Regions from separate parts of the Homo sapiens genome. Here regions 1, 2 and 4 are each linked to region 3. Evidence: promoter capture Hi-C in 16 types of primary human blood cells and fetal thymus (Javierre and others, 2016). All regions are on one chromosome and are shown on one strand. Each heading gives the region's core, a stretch centred on a gene start or on the middle of the fragment in contact. The rest is flanking DNA. Distances are from core to core; before and after follow the strand shown.

Region 1 (3,615 bases), core at 1,060-3,559, 270 kb before region 3:
GTCTGTTGCTGTGTGCAAGGTGAAGGCTGGGGCAAGAAAACGTGCAGTAACAAGGGCTCCTTTGTCCATCTCACCTCTCTAGATACCAAGTTTCAGACATGTTGCATTTTAATTGAAAAGTTGATATAACTTTTTTTAAAAGAATACTTGCAGTGCTTGAAGTGTAAAAAGCTGCTGTGACAAAAAAAAAAGCAGGGAAAGGGATTTTTTTTAAAAAAGCAAACAGCAACAATAAAAAACCCACAAACAACAAATAACAAACAAAAAAACAGAGGAAGAAGTCGAAACACCCTGGGCTGAGACTATTTCCAGGAAGGGGCTACGAAAGGCAGTTGGAAATTCCATTTTCTTTGCAACTGTGGGTTTTCTGGCCTGCTTCCTTTCTAAAGTATATTACTTTCTTTTTGGTTCATGAAGTTATCCCTTTGTGTCTTCTGGAACAGCTATGTATTTTCTTTATCTATCATCTAGCTACCTGCCTATCATCTATCTGTCTTTTCTGCCTTTTGCTATCAAAAGCTTGGGTCAAGCAGGATAGAATTCCAGTGTATGTTCACTCTACCATTTAAAACAAGAGCTCTTGTAGGCATTCTTCATCACATCACAAACCTGAGCTTTCTAAAACAGGGTGTGGCAAACTACCATGCATGGGCCATGTCTGACACAGTCTGCATTTGTAAGTAAAGTTGTATTGGGACAAAGCCACATAGATGTGTTATATAACATCTCTGGCTACTTTCATAGTACAATGGAAGAGCTGAGTCATTGAGACAGAGACCACATGGCTTGGAAAACTTAAAATATTTAACATTTTGCCCTTTGCAGAAAATACTTGCTAACTCTTGTTTTAAAAGATCTTTGTTTAGAATGCTACCTGTTGCCTTCTGGGTAGAATCACAACTATATACCACAATAGACACAACTTGAACCCTGCTTCTATATCCAGCCTCATCTATTATTTCCTCTCCTTCTTATTTTCCTTCTGGCCGTGCTGATGGATTGTCAGCTTCCCAGATGTGCGAGAATCTCTCCTCCCTTCCCCACATTCTCATGCTCTCCCTCTGCCTCTGGAGAACTACCTGCCCCATCTCTCATGATAAATCCTTTCTTCATTCTTTATGTTGCAGCCCCTTTGCTCCTTCCTTAAGGATGTCTATCTGGCTCTATTTTGGGTGACATGCTCCTTCTGCATCTCCCAGAGCCAGCCTGTGTGTGTCAGCTACAGCATTTCTTTGCATCTCTGTGTCATATATCACCAAATCTGCCTAAGCTTGAGTGAGTCACTGCATGACAACTTCAGACTCCAACAGCATTGTCCGCACTAACCACGAGGCTTAGACATTTGTCCAGTATGCTCAGGGTTGTGGGGTGGTAGCAGTAACCAGCTGGTGAGCATCATCTCCTACATTAGAATGAAATCTGTAGATCTCTGCCATTCATAAGTATTTGGAGTTTAACATTAGCATAAAGATTTTCCTTAAAATAAGAACAAATGGCTTGAGTCAGCTTTTGGAACATAGGATATTTCCACTGGTTCATTTCTGTGTTCAGTATTCCCACATGAATCTAAACACGACTCGACTCTTAGTAGCTGTGTGACCCTGGGAAAGTCACTCAATCGCCCTCAGCTAAATTATGTGTGTGAGTAATGAGAAGAGAGTTGTTGTTTGTATTTAGTGAATAATAACAAACAAAAGGCATTTAGTTTTCTGGAACCTGATATGTAGTAGTTCCTCATGAAATACTAGCTCTGTTGATAAAACTAGACTGAAAGGAGCTTTCAAAGTCAACAACAACATCATGCAGTGAAGGATGTAGATGAGAAGCTGCTGCTGCAGCCTGGAGCTCCTGGAGGCCCGTTTTGTCCATGATTTAGCAGGAATGCATTACCTTTCCATCAAGAGATGCTGCCCACAGAAACCAAGGCCATTCTTTGAAGACAAACATGTTTTAATAGCATTTACATTATATAATAGTGTAATATAATTATTAATAATGTAAAATTATTTAGATTATTATGTTATGACTTTTGTACAGACCTTTACACCTAGGTATTCTGAAGTTGGTGGTCTGTGAGTGGCATCGAGTGATGACTGACACACTCTGACCTGGGGTAGAACAACACGTCTCCCTGCAGTTTGCTGAATTTTAGGGCGTCACCACCTGTTTTCAAGAGTGTGTTTTTCTATCCTCCCGAGTTTTGCCCACCTAAGCAATGGTTTTGCTGTAATAAAGAATTACACTATTTACCAAAATGTTCCTTTGGAGAATAAAGTTTTCTTAAACTATCAGGACCATAGCTAATGTCAGTGGCGCCAAGGATCAGAAGGTAAAAAGGCCTTTTTTTGGGGGGGCCAAGAGAAAAAAAATCACCACATTTCAAACTGTCTCATGCTAGTCACCGGAAAATTAGAAATGAACACACTCCCTCCCAGCCCAGTCACAGCTACTAAATAACAAAGATCTCCTGCAGGTGCCTGCAGGTGCTCCTTTGTGCGCCTGGGGTTGCTGGCTGGCACTGGGCAGCAGGCAGCAGAGCTGGTCCCACACAGGCACATTGAACAGCCTGGATCTTGGCCTGGCGCTGGCTGGGAAGCTATTTGATGTCAGGCTCAATGTGGACTTCTGAATTGAAAGGAGAGTATGGGTCACCCAGCCCCACTTACTCATTTTACAAAGAATGAAAATGGGGCTCTATGCCAGACGTGAGAGTACACATTGTAAGGCTGTGCAAGCTCGCTGCACTTGTATCCACTCAGCACACACTTACTGAGTGCCGAGTGTCTCCAGCATGAGAGGGGCTCTAGTTCCCGGGGTCCCACCCTCCACAGAGGATGGCAGCACTTTGAGGGACAGAGGTGCAAAGAGCAAGTTGGGGGCCCTTCTGCTGGAGAGGTGGCTGGGGAGGGTCCTTAGAGGAAGTGACACCTGAGCTCTTCTCTGAAGGGTGAAGCTGAATTACTTGAACCTTTGGGCGAAGGGGTGTCTAGGAAAGTGGAGCCTGTGAGTCAAAAGCAAAATGACTTGTCCAGAGAAGTGTGACAAGTTCCATATTCTTTCTATGCCAAACTTGAATAGGAATCACCAAAGGAAAGAGCAGGATCCTGGAGCCAGGGCCTTGGATTTCACCCGCTGGCAATGGGAATGTTCACTGGGAATTTTGGGGGGCAAAACGTGAAAGTGTTTTCTCTTAGCTCCAATTCTCTCTGTCTCTCTGTCTCTTCCTGTCCCTCTCTCTCTCCCTTATCTTTAATTTTTCTATTATTCTAAGAAAACACAGATGTCTCAGATGTGGGGATTAGCAGCCTGCCTCTTTCTGGATGACTTCAGGGGAGCACTTTGGCCTCTGTAAGCTTATTTACAATAATTCATGAATCTTGCAAAAAAAAGTCATGGTAGCAGAGGTTAGAAAATCTCCTAGTATTTCTTCTGATACTTTGAATTTATGATTAATATATTTAGTCTTCATCTTCTGAAAAGTTACCAGTTGCACAGTGAGGACCATAAAGGGAGTCTGTTTCGGTGGTTTCTGGCTGCAACAGTCAGTGGTTTTGCAGCAATAGCATTGCATGTGGGTTTTAGGCTGATGATGCTCAACAGTGGACAATCCTTTTC
Region 2 (3,431 bases), core at 566-3,065, 370 kb after region 3:
TTACTGGTCAGCATTTTATTTTTCATGTTATCTCTTTATTTGAAACATTGTAAATCCCAGAAGGCCCTGTGGGTGCCAGAAGAAGAGCTGCTGAGCGGCGGTTCCCACGCGTGCTGCAGACGCTTTTCAGAGACAAGTCTTGGTCTTTGTGCTGGACGGAGGCAATGCTGCTAATGGGAGGCGGAGCCCACCTGCTCCTCAGCCAGGCCGCAGGGAGAGGCAGGCAGCGGTGAAAGCCGCTGAGCGGGAAGCAGGGCCGGGATGTAAGGCAGAAGCCGCAGGGACGTCGGCTGGGCCTCGGTTGAGAGCAGGGGAACGAGGAGCGGGTCTCCCAGTCGGGCTTCTATCTAAGGACAGAGCTGCTGTGCACCGGCTCCCTGAACTGCTCCTGCTCCCTGCAGTGCTCCCACTCCCTGCTGTGCACCCGCTCCCTGCTGTGTACCCACTCCCTGCTGTGTACCCACTCCCTGAAGTGCACCCACTCCGTGCTGTGCACCCGCTCCCTGCTGTGTACCCGCTCTCTGCAGTGCTCCTGCTCCCTGCAGTGCTCCCGCTCCCTGCAGAGCTCCCCCTCCCTGCAGAGCTCCTGCTACCTGCTGTGCACCTGCTCATACAGTTCACCCACTCCCTGCAGTGCTCCCACTCCCTGCTGTGCTCCTGCTACCTGCTGTGCACCTACCTGAAGTGCTCCCACTCCTTTCAGTGCTCCTGCTCCCTGCAGCGCACCTGCTCCTTGTAGTGCTCCCGCTCCCTGCAGTGCACACGCTCCCTGAAGTGCTCCCGCTCCCTGCTGTGCTCCCGCTCCCTGCTGTGCACTCGCTGCCTGCAGTGCTCCCACTACCTGCAGTGCTCTCGCTACCTGCTGTGCACCCGGAGCTGCCGAGGCTGGGCCCTGGATGGTGCAGGTGGGCCTTGGGTGTAGAGTGCAGCCTCGCCCCCATTTCCCGTGGACGTTTCCAGCCGCCCGAGTCTTCTGAGACCACAGATAAGGTCAAGCGAAGGAGGGCGTATCACTTCAGCTTCCAACTTCTACTCTCTACTTAAAAGTAGTTCCTGAGGCCAGCAGCGCGTCAAGGGCCAGGGTGGGGCCCTTCATCCTTTCTCTTCGTGTGTCTGAGCCTCCCAGTGTCCAGCAGGCAGAAGTGGTGAGCTCCTCGGGCCTGCAGCATCTTGTGAGGCTCATCCCTATCATAGCACAGCCCCCACAGAGCAGCCTCTCAGTCCCTCCATTCTCATCATGTTACTTCACTGGATAGGTCTTCTTTAAAAAGCATTCGTGGGCCGGGCACGGGGGCTCACGCTTGTAATCCCAGCACTTTGGGAGGCCGAGATGGGTGGATCACCTGAGGTCAGGAGTTCGAGACCAGCCTGGCCCATATGGTGAAACCCAGACTCTATTAAAAATACTAAAAAATTAGCTGGGCGTGATGGCAGGTGCCTGTAATCCCAGTTACCCGGTAGGCTGAGGCAGTAGAATCGCTGAAACCCAGGAGGTGGAGGTTGTAGTGAGCCGAGATCATGCCACTGCACTCCAGCCAGGGCGACAGAGTGAGACTCCGTCTCAAAAAAAAAAAAAAAAAGCATTCCTGAAACTAGACCATGTAAATGCACTTATTCATTCACATCATCATCTGTGTGGGTGCAGGTGCAGCATGGGTGTTTTCTAATGTAACGGAAAAATGAAATCAGTGATGTCTCCAGGCGCCTACATGTGTGCACGTGTGCACACGTGAGAGTACACTGCTGCATGTATCGTGTGGGTATGTGCATGAGTGTGAGCTTACATGCACAAGTGAGAGTGTATATGTAAACCTGCACTGTGTACGTTGCGTTGTGACATGTGCGCATGTCTCTGTGTGTTCACGTGTGCACGTGTCTCTGTGTTCACATGTGTGCACATGTGACTCTGTGTGTTCACCTGTGTATGTATTTAGGTCTGTTTCTGGACAGTAAAAACTGACTTTACAACTGATTTGGGATGTGGTTAACCTCATTCAAATGAACACAGGAAACCGAAGCCCTGTGCTTCCCGGCTCATTCCCTTCAGCTCCGGGTGACGTTCCTCAATCAAAAATATTAGACTTCTCTTTCTGAATAAGTGACAGAAATTTTCCCCAAGCAGCCAAACAGGGGCCTCTGGCATGGTGCTGTGGTGCCCTCTGGAGGGTTAGTGGAAAAGATGTCTTTCTCAGACAGAACGGGGAACGAACTGGAAAAGCTCTGCAGAGCCAAGGAGGTATGCGGCCCCAGATCCTGACGTTCCCCTTTCACAGCTCAGGAGACCAACCTGTGCAGGATCCACGACTCTGGCCCCACGTCGGGCCGGGCATCTCTTTCACGCAGCAGCTACATGTCACATTTCCTTTTCTCTATTCTGGTCCTGGAGTGAGCAGCACAGGACGCATTCTGTATGCTCCACATCATTCTGGGGATCAGATCAGCACCACCGCATCGCCAGCCCCACCAAAGCCGTTAACAGACGTGCAGTTTAGGGAATCTAACACATATCTTTTGATCCTTACAGTGATCTTATAAATAACTATGTCGAGTATGCCTATATACCTTTCCTGAAGGGAAACTGAAATTCGAGGCCATCATCACCATGTCCAGTGAGAACCAAGGCTCTTATAAAATTGATCATGTTCTGTGGTCATCACAGGAAGTGTTTTCACTCGGAATCTATCGTCAGACATGTCAGTACCTCTCAAGAGTTCTCATGAACACATTTTTACAATGACCACGTATTAATGTGCAGAATTCCACAACAGCTTGCAGCTGTTACCCTGGAAAATCCACTAATTGCATACGTATTTCAATGTGCTGTCGACATAAAGGTGACGCCCTGTAGGATGGGGGTCATAAACCTGCCAGGACAATGGTGAAGACTTGGGAGGGTAAGAAATGAGAAAGCGCTGTGTGCCCTTGAAGCAGCCGGGAAACCCGCATCCACCCAGGCTGCACCTCCACTCCCAGGCTCCGCGCTGCTTCCGGTCTGTTGTTCTGCTCAGGACTGTGATTGCAGCGGGGAAGCCTCTCACTCACCCAAGAGCCCCGTGTGCGGCCTAGGGTTGGTGGGAGACACAAACCCATCCCAGCCCAACCTGAGGTCATCGGTTACAAAGGACAGTGGCAGGGAAGTCAAGGCCCCACAAATGTCCACTCAGTACTTTTCAGAACTTACATGCTTCTAATATGTGCCAGGTATGCTTTGAGAGACTCTTGGATGGACTTTCTTGTATTGTCAATATATAAGCTGTCTGAAATTTATTATTTGATTTGTCACATCAGTAACTTACAGAGAAGAATTTAAAGAGCAAAAAAGCCAACATGAGTAACTTTATTTATAAAGGTGTCACAGTTCTTGGCAAGTAAATCCATTCCTAGGTAAACCATGGCTTCTGGCTTCAAATTCACAATTCCTAAGGTCCCCC
Region 3 (3,539 bases), core at 289-2,788:
GCTCCTGAAGCTCCAGGATTATGTCGGCTGTCTACCCCGTGGGATGCAGACAGAGACCACGAAGTTACAGAGGTAAGAAAACTGTTTTTTTTTTCTTTTAAACATTTAACTTCCAGTGAATAAGTCACTTTTAGGCACTTTAGTTTTAAGGACCTTGGGAATCAAATCCCACAACATTTCAAAGTTTTTAGAGAAAACCTGACCCTTCAAACAAAAAAATGGGTTACAGAACATTACTTTATCTAGATACATATTTAGAGTAAGGATTAAAAGACCACGTTTCAGTGAGGTGTAAATTAGTGGGAATATGCATGAACCTGGTTTGTAGGGTAAGAATCCCAGGGAAAGACTCTGCCAAGCAAACTTCTTCCACCAGGGTTCTCCGCACACAGTGGGTGGGGAGAACCCTGCAAGGGCGTTCTTCTTGAGTTCAGCTTTGTTTTTGCGTATTTACAGCCCTCTCCATCTTCACTCCCCCGTTCAGGGCTCCTGGCTGAGCCCCGACTGTGTGTGAAGTCACGCCCTCTGAAGAGGAGCATTCGCATCCACAGCTGACCCCCTAGTGAGTCTTCATTCACTCCTAACTTGACGCAGCCGGGATAAAACTGACCTTATCATGTTTGACCTGATTGTGTCACAAAAGCATTAGACGCTTTCATGCTTTCCTGGGAAATTCCCCGTGGGCCACCACTCTGGGCAGGGCCATGAAGGAGCCTGGATGCTTCCTTTTCAGTTGGGAAAGCTTTGCTGGAAATGCTTCCATTTCCAAAGTGACGGTTGACAGTTTAGTGTGGAAACCACCGACCCGCGCCGCAGCTCACGCGCGCCAGAAGGAGACCAGGCGCTTCTCCGCCAGGCCTCATGCGCGGACCTATTGCTGCTATTTTCTTTTTCTTAAAAAAAAAAAAAAAAAAAAAAGGAATCCTGCTGTTCAGTGGTCAAAATTGATGTCTCTTTTTGAAACGTGTTTCTCAAAGACAATTCTATTTCCCAGCAGCCCCGGCCCTCGGGCGCGCTCGGCCCCACTCACCCACTCGCTGCTCCGGCGAAGGCCCCAGCCCCGCCGCCTCCGCGCGGCCCAGGGCGCAGTCCCGCCCGAGGAGCTGCAGGCCCTTGTGCTCCGCCGAGTGGTGCTTCCGCAGCTCCTGGACGAGTTCCACCACCAGCCGCAGCAGCGCCTGTCCGTCCGCCGGCTCCCGGGGCTCCGCGCCCCCCCGGCCGCGCCCCGCCGCCCCCAGCACCAGCAGCAGCCCCAGGAGGAGGGGGTGCCCGGGTCCGCGCATCGTGCGCTCGGGGCCGCGGGGCTGGGAGACTCCGACACGCGCCGAGAGCTGGGCTCGCTGCGAGAGAAGGGGCGCGGGGGGCCGGAGAGAAAGTCAGCGGGGGAGGGGGACGGAGCGCGGGGCGGGGGAGGGGAGGGGAGGCGGGAGGAGCCGCTGGCGCTGGACCCGGCCCCTCACCTCCGCGGACCCCGAGGAACAAGCCGGCAGGTGAGGGAGCCGCGGTCTCCTCGACGATCACGCCCGAGGTCCCGCCCACGGGGAGCGACCGCCGCTGGTGCGGAAAGGAGCCCCCGGAACCCGCCCGCCCGCCAGCCCGGCCCCTCCTAACTTTCGCCCGAAAGGCCGCGTCCGCCGAGCGCGCTGCGCCTGGCGCGGGCGCAACTTTCTTTCCCCTTTGGAAGCCGCGGGTGCCAGGCAGCTCCCCGGCCGCGGGCGGACCTCGGAGGGGCCGCGCTCCCGCGCCTACCGCTCTCCAAGAAGGCGGCGCCGCGCGCCGGGCCCGGCGGCCGCGCTCAAGTTTCCAGCGTCGCCTTTGCGCGGTGGTCGCCGGCGAGCGCCGAGTCCCCGAAGCCCACGGAGGAGGCCGGGTGCGGACCCTCGCGCTGGCCCCGGCCGCGCCACGTGCTGGAAGCCCCTCCACCTCCCGGCCATGGCGCCCTCCCGCACCTGCCCGGCGCCACCCGGGAGCCACCTGCGCGTCGTGGCCGGGCCGGTTACCTGGAGCCGCCGGAGTCGTCGCCGTCTGTGCGCACGTCTGTCCCCGCGCCCCGAGCTGCGCCACTACTCCATGCCCGGCGGGCGGAGCGCACGGGACGCGGGGACTCGGCCGCTCCGAGCGCTGGACCCACGGCCGACCTGGGGTGCGCCGGCTCCGAGTCCCGCCTCAGACCTCGGGGAGCTTCTTATCCCCGCGCCCGCCGACGTCAGGCGGGTCCCCAAGGGCTCCGAGCGGGGCTTTAATTAGAAGCCGCTGAAGTGTTAGTACCCCCATGCGGATCTTCGTCAGTCCCCCCGCCTCACCTCGCTCTCGCCTCCCCCCGTCTCCCGCTCCCCCTCAACTCCGCCCCCGCCCCCGCCCGGTCCCCCCACCCGCATCTCCACCGCGTCTCCCCCTCGCCCGCGCCCCGTCTCCCGCGCCCCTTCCCTCCCCACCTTCCCCATCTCCCGTCTCCTCCTCTCCTGCCCCACCTTCCCCCACTCCCCGTCTCCTCCTCTTCCCCCTGTTCTCCTCCCCCCGCCCCTCCCCCAGTCTGTTTCCCTCCGTTCCTGTCACTTGTGACAGGATGAGAAGAAACGCCTTTACCAGGAACTCGGTTCTGTTTTTGTCTAAATGTAGATCTTGGGCTATTAAAAAGGGAGCTGCCTGATTGCTTCGACATTTAATAAGTCAATTAGAGTCCATCCGTTTTGGAGGGATCCGCTCTCCGGACCTCGAGGGGTCTGCCCCGCCCGAGCCCAGTCCCCAGGTTCGGGTCCCCAAGCCCTGGTCCCCGAGGCGGGGCGGCCAGGAGGCAGGAGATGGGCGGGTGAGGACTCTCCACGGCCCCCGAGGTGCGCACAGCTGACCACCCGAGGAGGGGCAGGACCTGCACCCCCTCCCCAGACCCCCTGCGAGAGGACGAGCGAAGGTCCCTCCCCGGCAAGGACCGCGCCATCTGCGCGCTCCTCTGCGCTGGACCCTCGGCCCGCGGGTCCCTCGCGCCCCGGCAGGGAACGCCCGCAGGAGGGCACTTGCCTCCCGGACTCGTCTTTAAGAAAGTTTGGCTCTTTGGCCGAAGCCCGGCACATCTGTGAAAGTTCAGCAATTTGCCTCTTTTATTTTATTCTTGTAAAATGTATTATCAATCAGTTGCGCACTTTCCCATTCGATTGGTGCTTTCTGGGCAAGAGCTGGACGTCTTCCAAGTCCGCGATCTGTTTGGGAAAGGTGTTCTGAGTGCAATCAGAGAGGCGGAGTGGGCGAGAATTAAAGGCCTGCACCATGATCGGGGCAGTCGCAGGACCGCGGCGGGAAGGTGCTGGCCCAGGCGCACGTGAGCGCGGGCGGTGCGGGCGGAAGGCTCCGCGCCCCGATCCCCCAGCTCCCGGAGAGGCCCCGTCTGCGCCCGTCCCCGCGTCCTTTCTCTCTTCCTGCACGGGGTCTGTCTCCTCAGGAGGAGAAAGTGTCCGGCAGAGCTGGGCGGGGAGGCAGCGTGGAGAGAGAAGATATGAAATGTGCCGGTTCCGGACCCCGCCCCACACCCTTGGGATCTGCGT
Region 4 (3,277 bases), core at 441-2,940, 290 kb after region 3:
CTCAAATGCTCGTCAACAGAATTGTTGAGTAAGTCGTGTTATAAGCTTACAATAAAATACCATAGAACAACAAAATTATCAAAATGTTACATACAATAAAAAGGATAAATTTTATAAAATAACATTTGAGAAGAAGCCAGACACAGAAAAATATATTATATGAGTCTCTTCATTGAAATGTCAACATTAGTCAAAGCTGATTCCACAATGCATATTCATCCAAACAGCATGTTGTATATCGTGAATATATACAATTTTTACTCATCAAGTGAACATTTTAAAAAATTGGTCAAAATTTATATTGGAAATTAGAATTTTTTTCTTTTTTTTTTTTGAGACTGAGTCTTGCTCTGCTGCCCAGGCTGAAGTGCAGTGGTGTGATCTCAGCTCACTGCAACCTCTGCCTCCCGGGTTCAAGTGATTCTCCTGCCTCAGCCTCCTGAGTAGCTGGGATTACAGGCATGTGCCACCACGGCTGGCTTTTTTTCTTTTTTTTTTTTTTTTGTATTTTTAATAGAGACGGGGTTTCACCATTTTGGTCAGGCTGGTCTCGAACTCCTGGCCTCGTGATCCACCCACTTCAGCCTCCCAAAGTGCTGGGATTATAGGCATGAGCCATCGTACCCGGCCTGAAAATTAGAATTTTTTTTTTAAATAAGAAAACAGAATTCTCCTGTTAGGAATTAGGATGATGCTGCGTTGGCGAAGAGGGAATGGCGATGGAGGGAGATTGAGACACGGAAATGCCAGGGGTGTCCTGTATGCTGACCTGGACGCTGTGTGCTGAGTCATAGTTCATCAAGCCCTGTGTTTAGAGCTCTCATTATCTTCTGAAAGTTTGGCAAGCTATAACAAATACAAAGATGTCAGTAAAACAAACAAACAAATAACAAGGGTGCAACCTGAGGCCCAATCAGAGCCTCTGCTCCCAGCTTGCCAACTGCCTCTGTGGTCCACTGGAAGGCAGCCATTCCACCTGTGCTCACAAGGAGCTTGGCCTGGGCAGGACTGGGCTGCACCTGGCACCCGCGTCTCCCGTCTCATCCCCTCTGTGCACAGCAACCTGGAGACCGACAGCAGCAGCCAGTGGGAAGTCTTCAACCCCATGATGCACACAGGGCGGCTGCGGCTCTGAGGTTTCCTGCCGAATTCTCAGGGTCTTCTCTTGTTGCAACTGGTTTTGCTTCCTGTCACTGATACATCGATCATCATGCTTGTAGGCTCAACAGAGGGATTTTTTTTCAATTATTTACAAAGAATGTTTAATTGAATAAAATGAAAACAAACCCAACGTGCTATTTACAAAAAAAAAAAAAAAACACTCATTAATAAAATTATAAGTCAGGGTTCGGCAAACTATGACTTCAGTTTGTTTTTTGTTTATGTTTAACTGACCGTGAACTACACGTGTTCTTTGCATTTTTATAAGATTATAAAAGTAAAAAGAAGCATATGCAACAGATGCCCTGTGTATCCAAGAAACATAAAATATTTACTATGTGGCTCTTTATGAAATAGGTTTACCAAACCTGATTGTGAAGAAGGACTGAGTCACAGAGGGATGTGCAGAAGGCCGGGCAGAGGTGGCAGCAAGCCAGCTAGAGGGTGGAGGTCTCCGTGTGAGGGCGCTGAGTGGGGGCAGTGGGTCAAAGCCTCCTGGGGGCACTCTGTGGAAAGCACGTTTAACAGTCACCAATTTATATGCACAGAACTTAGCACCTGAGTATAAACCAACAATGAAAACGTAATAAGAACGGGACAAAATACATAAAAAGCCCAATGGATTTCAGTCCCATCCAATCCAGTAAAATAGTAGTGGAAAATTTTAACCACAACTTTTAGAATGGGGACGCTCCAGTGCATAAACCTAAATCGTGATGCAGAAAAACTGAACACGCAGTCAGTAAAACAAATTCAGTAACTATATATATAGAATGTCACTTGAATAGAAAACATGAACATCCACTGACCATTTAAAAAAATGAAATTTAGAAGTCGAAAAGTAATAAAGGCAGTAATAGTGAAGTGGGTAACAGGATGAAAGGGTAATCCTTAGATCAAATCTCAATTTCTAAGGAACATTGCAAGTCTCACATTACGGCTGGTGGCCACTCGATAATAAAACATCACTGCACGAGCCTGGCTAAGGTGATACAGAGAGGTCCCTATTTCCCATGGGGGTGTGGGAGAGATGCACGGTCTCATCCGTGGCTGCTGGGCTTGGTAAAGCACTTTGGAGAGAAATCTGACAGCATGCATTCAAGTTAAAAATGCATCAACCTTTCTGTGAGCCAGCTTAGTCCCCAGCATCTGTTCTGTGGAATAAAAGCCCAAGTAAGAATTAATGTGCAAGGAAAGTTATGGCAAACTATGTTCGTAGTTGCAGAAGTCTGGAAACCAGGCAAATGCCCATCAGTAGAAGAATAGCTGAATAGATGATTGTATTTAACACGGTGGAGGGTTAAGCAGACGCAGCATTAACATCATGAGCTTTTAAGAGCTAATTAAAAATATATCAGTTGACTTGGGTTTCAAAGTTGTGGATGAGTTAAAAAAAAAACAGATTTGGGAGACGTACAATAGAATCCCATTTGTATTAATGGGATTTTTAATAATGGCTAAGGTAAATGTGAATTTAAATATTTATGCTTGTGTTTGCATATTATCATATGGCCATGGAGAAAAATACGTGGAAGTCTACATGCCAGGTTTCTATCTGGAGGAGGGAGTGGGAGAGGAGGCGGCAAGGAGAAAAAAGGTTATTGAAAATGGAAAAGAGAAAAAAAATAAGAGAAAAATAAGGAATGCACCCCTAACAAGGTAATTTACATATTTATATGATTGCATTTATGGGTATAAGCATAAAGCATTATTAAAGAAAAATAAAAGTGAATGCTTATTTCTGGAGAGCTCTGTAATTTGTCAGGCAAGTTTCCTGGGCCTAGACACACAGTCAAAGGCAGTCAGTGAGGAAAGGGCAGCTAAGCCAGCCCTGAGGGTGGGTAAGGGCCAGGATCTCAGCTGGTGCACACAGCCGGGAGTGTGGTGCTGATGAAACATTGTTGGGAAGTTTAAGGATTGTGAGCCGACGGTTGTGCAGAGGCATCCGGCCTCCATCGTAAGATGCCAGACTCGGGCCATTGATTTGGCAAGAAATTCCCAAGATCTGACCAGAGTGCCTGTGTCTGTGTGGAGAGACCTCTGTGTCCATCTGCAGCCCTCTGTGGAGGGTGTAGTCCGGGCCAGCATGACTCCTGTGAGCCTCGGCCTCCACACT

What was found. Contacts are between HindIII fragments. The CHiCAGO score rates a contact against its expected background, and 5 or more counts as called.
Region 1: a contact is called between a fragment that was not itself captured here and the fragment with the promoter of ALKAL2 in region 3, in 1 of 17 cell types (total CD8 T cells). The highest score is 5.4, in total CD8 T cells.
Region 2: a fragment that was not itself captured here is called in contact with the fragment with the promoter of ALKAL2 in region 3 in 1 of 17 cell types (megakaryocytes); the score reaches 10.1 in megakaryocytes.
Region 4: a fragment that was not itself captured here is called in contact with the fragment with the promoter of ALKAL2 in region 3 in 1 of 17 cell types (naive B cells); the score reaches 5.7 in naive B cells.

What each region holds. Positions count from the first base shown.
Region 1 is chr2:14,782-18,396 of GRCh38, forward strand. No RefSeq gene overlaps it. Among named protein-coding and RNA genes, the nearest start is that of FAM110C, 30 kb to the right of the region's middle. The HindIII fragment of the contact is 2,083 bases long and covers 1,269-3,351 here.
Region 2 is chr2:660,572-664,002 of GRCh38, forward strand. TMEM18 (transmembrane protein 18) reads right to left here. Exons shown (of 5, transcript NM_152834.4): 5 at 3,306-3,431. Among named protein-coding and RNA genes, the nearest start is that of TMEM18-DT, 15 kb to the right of the region's middle. RefSeq lists an enhancer at 38-613. The HindIII fragment of the contact is 8,201 bases long and covers 1-3,431 here.
Region 3 is chr2:286,553-290,091 of GRCh38, forward strand. ALKAL2 (ALK and LTK ligand 2) reads right to left here and starts at 1,539. Exons shown (of 6, transcript NM_001002919.3): 1 at 1,461-1,539; 2 at 1,031-1,340. The coding sequence starts at 1,283. LOC101927262 (a long non-coding RNA gene) reads left to right here. Exons shown (of 3, transcript XR_007085917.1): 1 at 1-72. RefSeq lists a silencer at 1,054-1,103. The HindIII fragment of the contact is 4,532 bases long and covers 741-3,539 here.
Region 4 is chr2:578,596-581,872 of GRCh38, forward strand. No RefSeq gene overlaps it. Among named protein-coding and RNA genes, the nearest start is that of LINC01875, 34 kb to the left of the region's middle. The HindIII fragment of the contact is 3,295 bases long and covers 44-3,277 here.